Regions from separate parts of the Homo sapiens genome. Here region 2 is linked to region 1. The links are contacts of gene promoters, found by promoter capture Hi-C in human tissues and cell types (Jung and others, 2019). All regions are on one chromosome and are shown on one strand. Each heading gives the region's core, a stretch centred on a gene start or on the middle of the fragment in contact. The rest is flanking DNA. Distances are from core to core; before and after follow the strand shown. Region 1 holds the start of KCNH6 (potassium voltage-gated channel subfamily H member 6). Region 2 overlaps ACE (angiotensin I converting enzyme).

Evidence for each region. The method cuts DNA at HindIII sites, captures the fragments that hold promoters and counts their contacts. A contact is called where the count stands out against the background at its distance.
Region 2: a fragment that was not itself captured here is called in contact with the fragment with the promoter of KCNH6 in region 1 in 4 of the 25 tissues and cell types used here (IMR-90 fibroblasts, lymphoblastoid cells, mesenchymal stem cells and 1 more).

Annotation. Positions count from the first base shown.
Region 1 is chr17:63,522,042-63,525,908 of GRCh38, reverse strand. It overlaps KCNH6 (potassium voltage-gated channel subfamily H member 6), which reads right to left and starts at 2,551. Exons shown (of 13, transcript NM_001278919.2): 1 at 2,420-2,551; 2 at 1,540-1,770. The coding sequence starts at 2,495. The HindIII fragment of the contact is 20,898 bases long and covers 1-3,867 here.
Region 2 is chr17:63,486,819-63,490,649 of GRCh38, reverse strand. ACE (angiotensin I converting enzyme) reads right to left here. Exons shown (of 25, transcript NM_000789.4): 15 at 3,577-3,664; 16 at 1,859-2,002; 17 at 1,518-1,709. Among named protein-coding and RNA genes, the nearest start is that of ACE, 12 kb to the right of the region's middle. RefSeq lists an enhancer at 3,657-3,831. The HindIII fragment of the contact is 4,675 bases long and covers 146-3,831 here.

The sequences.
Region 1 (3,867 bases), core at 1,302-3,801:
CCTGCTGTCCCATCCTGTTCCCCAGGACCCTTCTCACTCCCCTGACTGCCACCTCTCCTCTGCAATGATGTGAGGAGGTGAGGTCACAGCTTTTAAAAATATTCTGAGTTCATTAACCCTGTGAGTACTGCCACACTAAGCCAGATTCTTCCCAGTCCCTTCCTGGCTGCCGCTGCCTGTTGCACTTCCCACTGCCACTCACTCAAGTGGCAGCAGCAGGAACAACCAGGACCTACCCGAGAAGCTGTAACTCTGAGAAGCCTGCAAACACACACACACAGGCGTGAACTTGCAAGCACACACTCACACACAGAGGCACACACATGCAAGCACACACATGCTCATGTTTCACACACTCCAGGCCCCTGAAACCTGGTCTCTCAGCACTCCTCGGTCCCGATCCAGAGACATCCATTCTTTATCTCCACTCAGGTGGCCTCATGCCTGCCTTCCCTGGGGACTTCTCTCCCCTGAGCACCTCCTTCCCCAGAAATCCTGCCTGTAAACACAAAGGCAGCTGGGGTCCTTTCTCTCCTCTTGGGATTACTCAAAAGAAATCTCCGAGGGAGGAATCCAGAGACTTGGGTTCCAGTCCCAGGTTGGACTCTAGCAGTGGGATCTTGGGCAAATCCCTTCCACATCTATGAAATGAAGGGATTTACCTAAGCCAGTGGTTCCTAAAGTAAGCAGGACATCAGAACCACCAGGGAGATATTTCCAAATACACCCGCTTGGCCTCATCTCACACCTTCTGAGTCAGCCTCTCTGTAGAGAAAGCATGTTTTGGAAAACATGCTCTGGGTAATTCTGATGCAGAACCAGGTTGGGGGCCATTGATTCAAGAGATTTCCCAGGACATTCAGGCTCTTTTCCTCGTTCCCACCCATGCTGCCAGGTCCAGTGAGGACCCTGTGGTCCTGGGGGGTGGGGGAGGATTTCCAAGGGCTGCTGAGATCTGTCTTCAGCTCCTGACTTACGCTTCTGTTCTGCTTGCAGTATGCTCCAGCTGGCAGTAACAACCCAAACTCCATCTGAATGAGCTTCTTGGTCAGGGAAAACTCCAGACCCTGTCTCCCCAAAGAGCTGAGACTGGATAAGGCAGGCCCACCCCACTTTGCCAGCCAAAAGCCCCCATGCCTTGCCTGGCCACAGAGGTCTTCAGGAGGTGACTCCTCCTCTAATCCTTGGAGCAGACGGAGAGGAGGGAAGGTTAATTTCCATCCCAGCTGCCTGACCGCTGGGGCTGACAGTAAGATAGTGGAGAGCCAGGAGACCAGGGACACAGCAGAGGGATGGCAGAGCAGGAGGCCCTGCCCCAGGCCAGAACCAGTGGGTGGCCCAGCCTGATCCCTAGCTCCTGCAAAGGACCTCAGAAGGCATCATATCCAATGCCTGTGGAGGAACCAAGGCCCCTAGAAGAAACAGGGTTTGTTCAGGCCCTTTGGACCCTGGGTCAGTGCCTTCCCCAAGGCCACCCTGGCTGGACAAGACAGAGGGCCAAGCCTGCCCTGCAAAGCCTCTGGCCTGAGTATGCCTCACCATCCTTGCGGTAGTAGAGGATGTCCACCTTGCACTCCTCAGCCCCCAGCAGGGCCTGCGCTAGGCGGGACACGGCGCTGCTTGGTGTGTTGGGGCCTGTGAGGAAGTCGCAGGTGCAGGGTTGCTGCATCACCTCCACTCGGGAGTAGCCGAAGAGTTCGCAGAAGCCGTCGTTGCAGTAAATGATGGCGCAGTTCTCCATCTGAGCATTGGCAATCAGGAACTTCCGACCTGGGGTGGGAGGTGGGAGGCAAAAAGTCCATGGGAGCCAGGATCCAGCGGCTGGGAGGGAAAGATCATAAGGACTCTTGGTGGCAGTAAGGGGAATTTAGGCAGAGGAGCAGGGCAGTGACCGGAATGAGGGAGGGAGTCAGGCCTGGGGATTGTGGGAAGACTAGGGCAGTGAGGGTCTTGAGGTGGAAGGAAGGCCCAAGGCCTCCTGGAAACAGGAAAAGTGTGGGGAAGGGAGGCAGGGATGTGACCAGATGGGGGTCAGGCCTGGGAAAGCTCCTGGGAAGACCAGAACCAGGATATGAAAAGGAAGGAAAAGAAGGACTCAGAGAAGCCTCTGGAGGACGCGGATGAGGGGGCAGGCAGTGGCTGGAAGGGGAGGTTCGAACTTGGGGCACCAAGGAAACAGCTGGCAGTAGGGAGGGAAGGCCTGCACGCTGCTCCTTGTGTTCCAGAAAAGAGGACAGCATTTAAGGCAAGCGGGTCCCCCTGGAGGAGAAGGTGTTGGGGACATCAAAAGAAGGATTTTTCATTCAGCACCCGGCACTCACCACCTTGCCCGGTTAGAAGTTAGTAAAGGGGTCCAGCCCCCCCTTTCACGGAACCAGGACTCCAGATCGTCCCCCCGCCCCAACATACACACACTCACTTTGGCCCTCGAACTTGCGGATGATGGTGTCCAGGTAAGTGTTTTGGGGAGCGACGTGGCCCCTGCGGACCGGCATCTTTCGGCCGCGGCCCCTGCCCGGAGCCACAGGCGCCACTGGCTCCCGGCGTCTCCGTCTGTCCTCGGGCTCAGCAGCGTCCGGCTCCGGTGGGCGCCGCCCCCGGGGAGGGCCGCCGGGCTCCGCGCCCCGCCCGCCAGCCTGCGTCTGCCCTCCCCTCCCCACCCCTGCCCCACCTCTCCTTTCCTTTCCTGCGCTCCCCTGCCCTCCCCTCGCCTCCCTGGCCCGCGCCCTCCTGGCCTCCTCTCCTCTGCGCCGGCCCGGGAGCTGTCCACGCCTTGGTGCTGAAAGAAGCCGCGCGCCGGCGGCGGGGAGGGGGCCGCTGGGCGGGGCAGTTTCTCTGGGACCCGACGGGGCTGGGGCGGGGCCTTGCATCCTACGGGGCGGGGCGGGGCGGGGCGGGGCGGGGCTGGGGTCCTGGCCCTGGAATAGGGCAGGTGTTCTCTGAGGAGCTGCTTCTGTTCCTGTCCTAAGGGCCAATGGCCTCAGCACCTCTCCGATTCCCTCCCAGTACCAAAGGGCAGTCTCCCCTCCCAGTGCAGGGAGTTTCCCAGGCAGGAGGGGGGCTACAGATGGGGTTGTTAGGGGCCTCAGGTGGTCTTTGGCTGAAAGCTTTCTTCCGGGTCTGACCACTGGGCCCGACCCTGGCAATGATACCATTAGGCCTCTGGCCTGCTCTTATAGCAAGTGATCTCCAGCTCAGCTGAGACCTAGGTCCCATGCAGAGCTCCTGCCGCCAAGTCCAGCCAGGGCCTGGTCCTGAGAGGAGGGGGTAGGAGTACACATGAAGACGTGCAAGAAATATGCAATAAGGGCCAGGCGCGGTGGCTCACGCCTGTAATCCCAGCACTTTGGGAGGCAGAGGTGGGCAGATTACCTGAGGTCAGGAGTTTGAGACCAGCCTGGCCAACATGGCGAAGCCCTGTCTCTACTGAAAAAACAAAAATTAGCTGAGTGGTGGCGCAAACCTATAATCCCAGCTACTTGGGAGGCTGAAGTGGGAGAATCGCTTGTACCCGGGAGGCGGAGGTTGCAGTGAGCCGAGATTGCGCCACTGTACTCCAGCCTGGTAGACAGAGCGAGACGCGAGACTCCATCTGAAAATAAAAAGAAAGAAAGAAAGAAGTATGCAATAAGATGCCTTCTTCAGAGGCCTGAGAGCTCTTAGCATACAGGTACATCTTGGAAGGAGAACAGATTTAAAACCACCTATTAGCAAGTGACCACTGATAAAAGTGTCTGAGTACTGAGTACTGACTGAAAATGAACACACTAGAAAAAGCAAATGGGGGTGGGAATAGGTTTATTGAAAGAGGCTTCCTGGAGAGGAAGGGGAGAAGGGGACTACTGTTCACTGAGCATCTGGGTGGGC
Region 2 (3,831 bases), core at 1,234-3,733, 35 kb after region 1:
CAGGTCCCCAGAACACCTACACCCCGGTGGCCACCTCTTATTGGCTCTGCACCAAGAACATTGTGTGAATTCACTTTCAATCCTGTCTGCACCCAGGTACTGTCACGATTCCCATTGGCTAGTAAAGGAAACAGGCTGGAGAGTTAAGTGACCGCCCCCCTCGCCGGGGGCCCACGGCTCCTAAGTGGCAGGGCTGGGATTGAAAGGCTGGCAGGCTGCTCTCTTCACCAGCCACTCTGCCATGTCCCCTCCGCACCACCTGAGGTCGGTGTCTGCAGCTCAGCAACTCTGACAGGAACCAGCCGTCTCCTTCAGGAGAGGCTGATGCCTCTGAGTTTAGTGTAAGAAAAGAGCCTAGTTCTCCACGACAGAGGAAAAGGAAGAAACTCAGGATGAATGGAAGGCTCAGAAACAGATTTGGACTCAAGGCTCTTTCCTAGCCAAGTGAGGTGAAGCTTCGGCTGACATCAGATGAAGTCTAAAGTGCAAACCAGTGAGAGAGGGTTAGAGCGATGAGTGATGGAGAGAACATGAGAGAGAAGAGGGAGAGAGCCAGGGAGAGAGCCAGAGAGAGAGACAGAGAGCGCATCAGTGTTAGGTTGCTCCCCTTTCCCCTTTTACCAATTGTCAGGGGCTGAGTTCTAAGGCCAGCTCTGCCCCAGCTCCCAGGCCACGCTGGGCATGTTGCTTTTCTTCCCGGGGCCTGTGTCTCCCAGTTGGTGAACTGACGTCCACTGTGACATCACCAGATGTTCTTTGGTCTCACCAGAGAGGGGCTGAAGAGGGCTGGACTCCCAGCCTGTGTGGGAGCTAGACCCACAGCCAGGCCGTCCTCTGGGGCCTCCCTTATAGTTTCTAAATGGTCTGAGGGCCTGTCTGGTCTCTCTGCTCCAGGAAAGTGTTCCTAACAGCCCATCAGGGACAGAGAACCAGTAGCCTCTGCTTTGCCTTACTCCCTACCATCCCTTACTGTCCTCACCGCCTACTTCACACATTCAGGGCATCTGAGATTGCAGCCCTTGGCAAAGGAGGGTCCAGGGTTGAAGTAGATTTACATTCTCAGGTTCTTCTTTGTTCCAGTTCCCTTGGCCTGAACACTGCGTCTGTCCTCTCATCCCCCACTTCCCATCTGTCAAACCCTGTCATCTTCCGAGGCCCTGCTCACAGGCCACCTCTTGGCAAAGCCTCCCCAGCTCCCACTCACAGCCTCTTCCTCGCCCTCTAAGATCACACAATGTTGTGATGGGTGCCGTGGTCTCCTGGACAAGATTATTAACTTCTTCCCCCATCCATGGTGACTTGCCCGACATAGATCTGCAGTGAATGTGGCACCAGATGCAAGTGGGGGGCTCCCCACTCCCAGCGCCCACCCCCCTCCAGCCTGGGCAACCATCCCCCACAGGGCTGGAGTCTCTCAGTCCCCAGCCTGCTCCCTACCCTCTAGTCAGCCCTGTCCCAACCCTCACTCACACTGTGGTCCGTCTTTACCCTCCTCAAGGCCCGACATGTGCCCTTACCCAGCAGGTGAGCAGGAATGGGCCCCTCCAGGTTGATGTGCTGGGCCCCGTAGTGACGGTGCAGGGCCCGGCGCACGTAGGCATGCAGGTTGAGGTAGAGTGGCTGCAGCTCCTGGAAGAGCCGCTCCAGGTCTTGCTCCAGGGATGGTGTCTCGTACATAGACCTCCACGAGTCCCCTGCATCTACATAGCCTACAGAGGGGACACAGCCAGGCTCTCCCAACACCACATTACCTGCCTCCTCCAGGGATCTACCTTTTCCTAGGCTTGGGGTTTCACAGCACCTCTTTGAGGAAAATGAAGGGACCCAAGTGCCAGTGATGTTGGCAGCAGGGACTCACCATTGAGCCGGGCAGCCTGGTTGATGAGTTCCACGTATTTCGGGTAAAACTGGAGGATGGCTCTCCCCGCCTTGTCTCGCCAGCCCTCCCATGCCCATAACAGGTCTTCATATTTCCGGGACGTGGCCATCACATTCGTCAGATCTGGTAGGGGTTTGAATGCCTTGAGCTCCAGCCCTTAGCTCACCTCTGCTTGTAAGGGGAGCTCAGAGAATTTCAGAGCTGGAATAAAATTGGCGAAACCACATAAAAGTGACTGTATAGGCAGCAGGTCTAGAGAAATGGGAGAAAGGATGGGAGTGGCTCTCCAGCAGTGGCTTACAGAGTCCCCGGCCTGGGGCCACATGCTGCAGACACCTGCAGGGCCTCAGCAGTCCTGTGAGGGGCGTGCTTGAGTCTCTCTCCTCTCCTTTTTTTTTTTTTTTTTTTTTCTGAGACAGGGTCTCACTCTGTTGCCCAGGCTGGAGTGCAGTGGCGCCATCTCGGCTCACTGCAGCCTTGACCTCCCAGGCTCAAGCAATCCTTCCATCTCAGCCTCCCTAGCAGCTAGGACTACAGGCATGCACCACCACATCCAACTAATTTTTTGTATTTTATTTGTAGAGACGGGGTCTTGCTGTATTGCCCAGGCTGGGCTCAAGCGATTCTCATGCCTCAGCCTCCCAAGTAGCTGGGACTACAGGCATCTACCACCACGCCCAGCTAACTTTTGTATTTTTAGTACAGATGGGGTTTCACCATGTTGGCCAGGCTGGTCTCAAACTCCCGGCCTCAAGTGATCTACTCACCTTGGCCTCCCAAAGTGCTGGGATTAGAGGCATGAGCCACCACACCCGGCCAGCCTCCCCTCACACTTGGCATGGGTACCCACATCCACAACTTGTAGGCCAAACCCTGTCCTGGGAAAACCGTTTCTCCTGTTTATTTTCCATTTCCCCTTCTATTTGTCATTGTTCTAATGTGGGAGCTGGGCTGGGGGCCAGAAAGACCCATTTCTGGGTGGAGATTCCTCATGGAAGCAAGTTTATGCCTCAAGTTCTCCAACCCTGGAAAGGGTGGGTTGAGAGGGAGCTGGGAGGTATCTGTGTGCGGGTCCTTGTGTCGGGGGTGAGCTCTTTCAAACGGGCCGGGGTAAGAAGGACCAGCCAGTGGGGAGAAAAGAGGACAGTCAAGAGCTGTCTACTTCTATCCAGTAGGAAGTGGCAGGGTAGGTGAGGGAAGTGAGAGGAATCAGAGGCTCAGGTTCTAGTCTGGCGCTTTCAGGGGCTGTGTGACTCAATTTCCTTATCAGTCACATGCTGGGAGAGGGGCTCAGGAAAGACAGAGAAGGTGAGGAAGTCAAGGGCAGGGTCACGAAAGGAGGCCGGGGGGAGCTAGTGTCCCCGAGTTCCCCCCATTTGGAGTCCAAGCCCATGAAATATAACTTTGAGATCCCGCTGCTCTGAGGGGCGGCATGCAGAGAGGACAGGAGAGAGTGGACACCCTTAAGCAGAGGGCGGTTCTGAGGGAGGGGCAGCTGATCGGGGCATGGTATGAAGTAGGTGCCGGCTCTCAGTGGGGCAGAGAAGCCCCCCTCGTGGAAAACAAGAAAGGGCATTTCCTGGGCACGCTGACCCCAAGAGCGAGGGGAACCCAACTCTGTGCTCTCACCCAGCACCCCCGGGCCCCATGCCAGTCCCAGCCCTCGCCTCTCACTCAGCCTGCACATGAGCTCTCACCTGGCTCGAGCTGCAGGCAGCTGCCATTCGGGTGGCACACAGTGGCCACGCTGTAGGTGGTTTCCATATCCAACAGGATCTTGTTGTACTGCAGGAGGAAGGAGAGGCAATGAGCTGTACTCCTTTGCACTTGGTCTCTCTGGGGCCTGCACTACCCCCAGGCCCCATGGGCTGGCAGGTGGGGAGCCAGGGAGCTGGGGAGCGCTGCCCTCTCAGCAGTTCTGAGGTGCACATCGCATGGCAGATGCCATGACT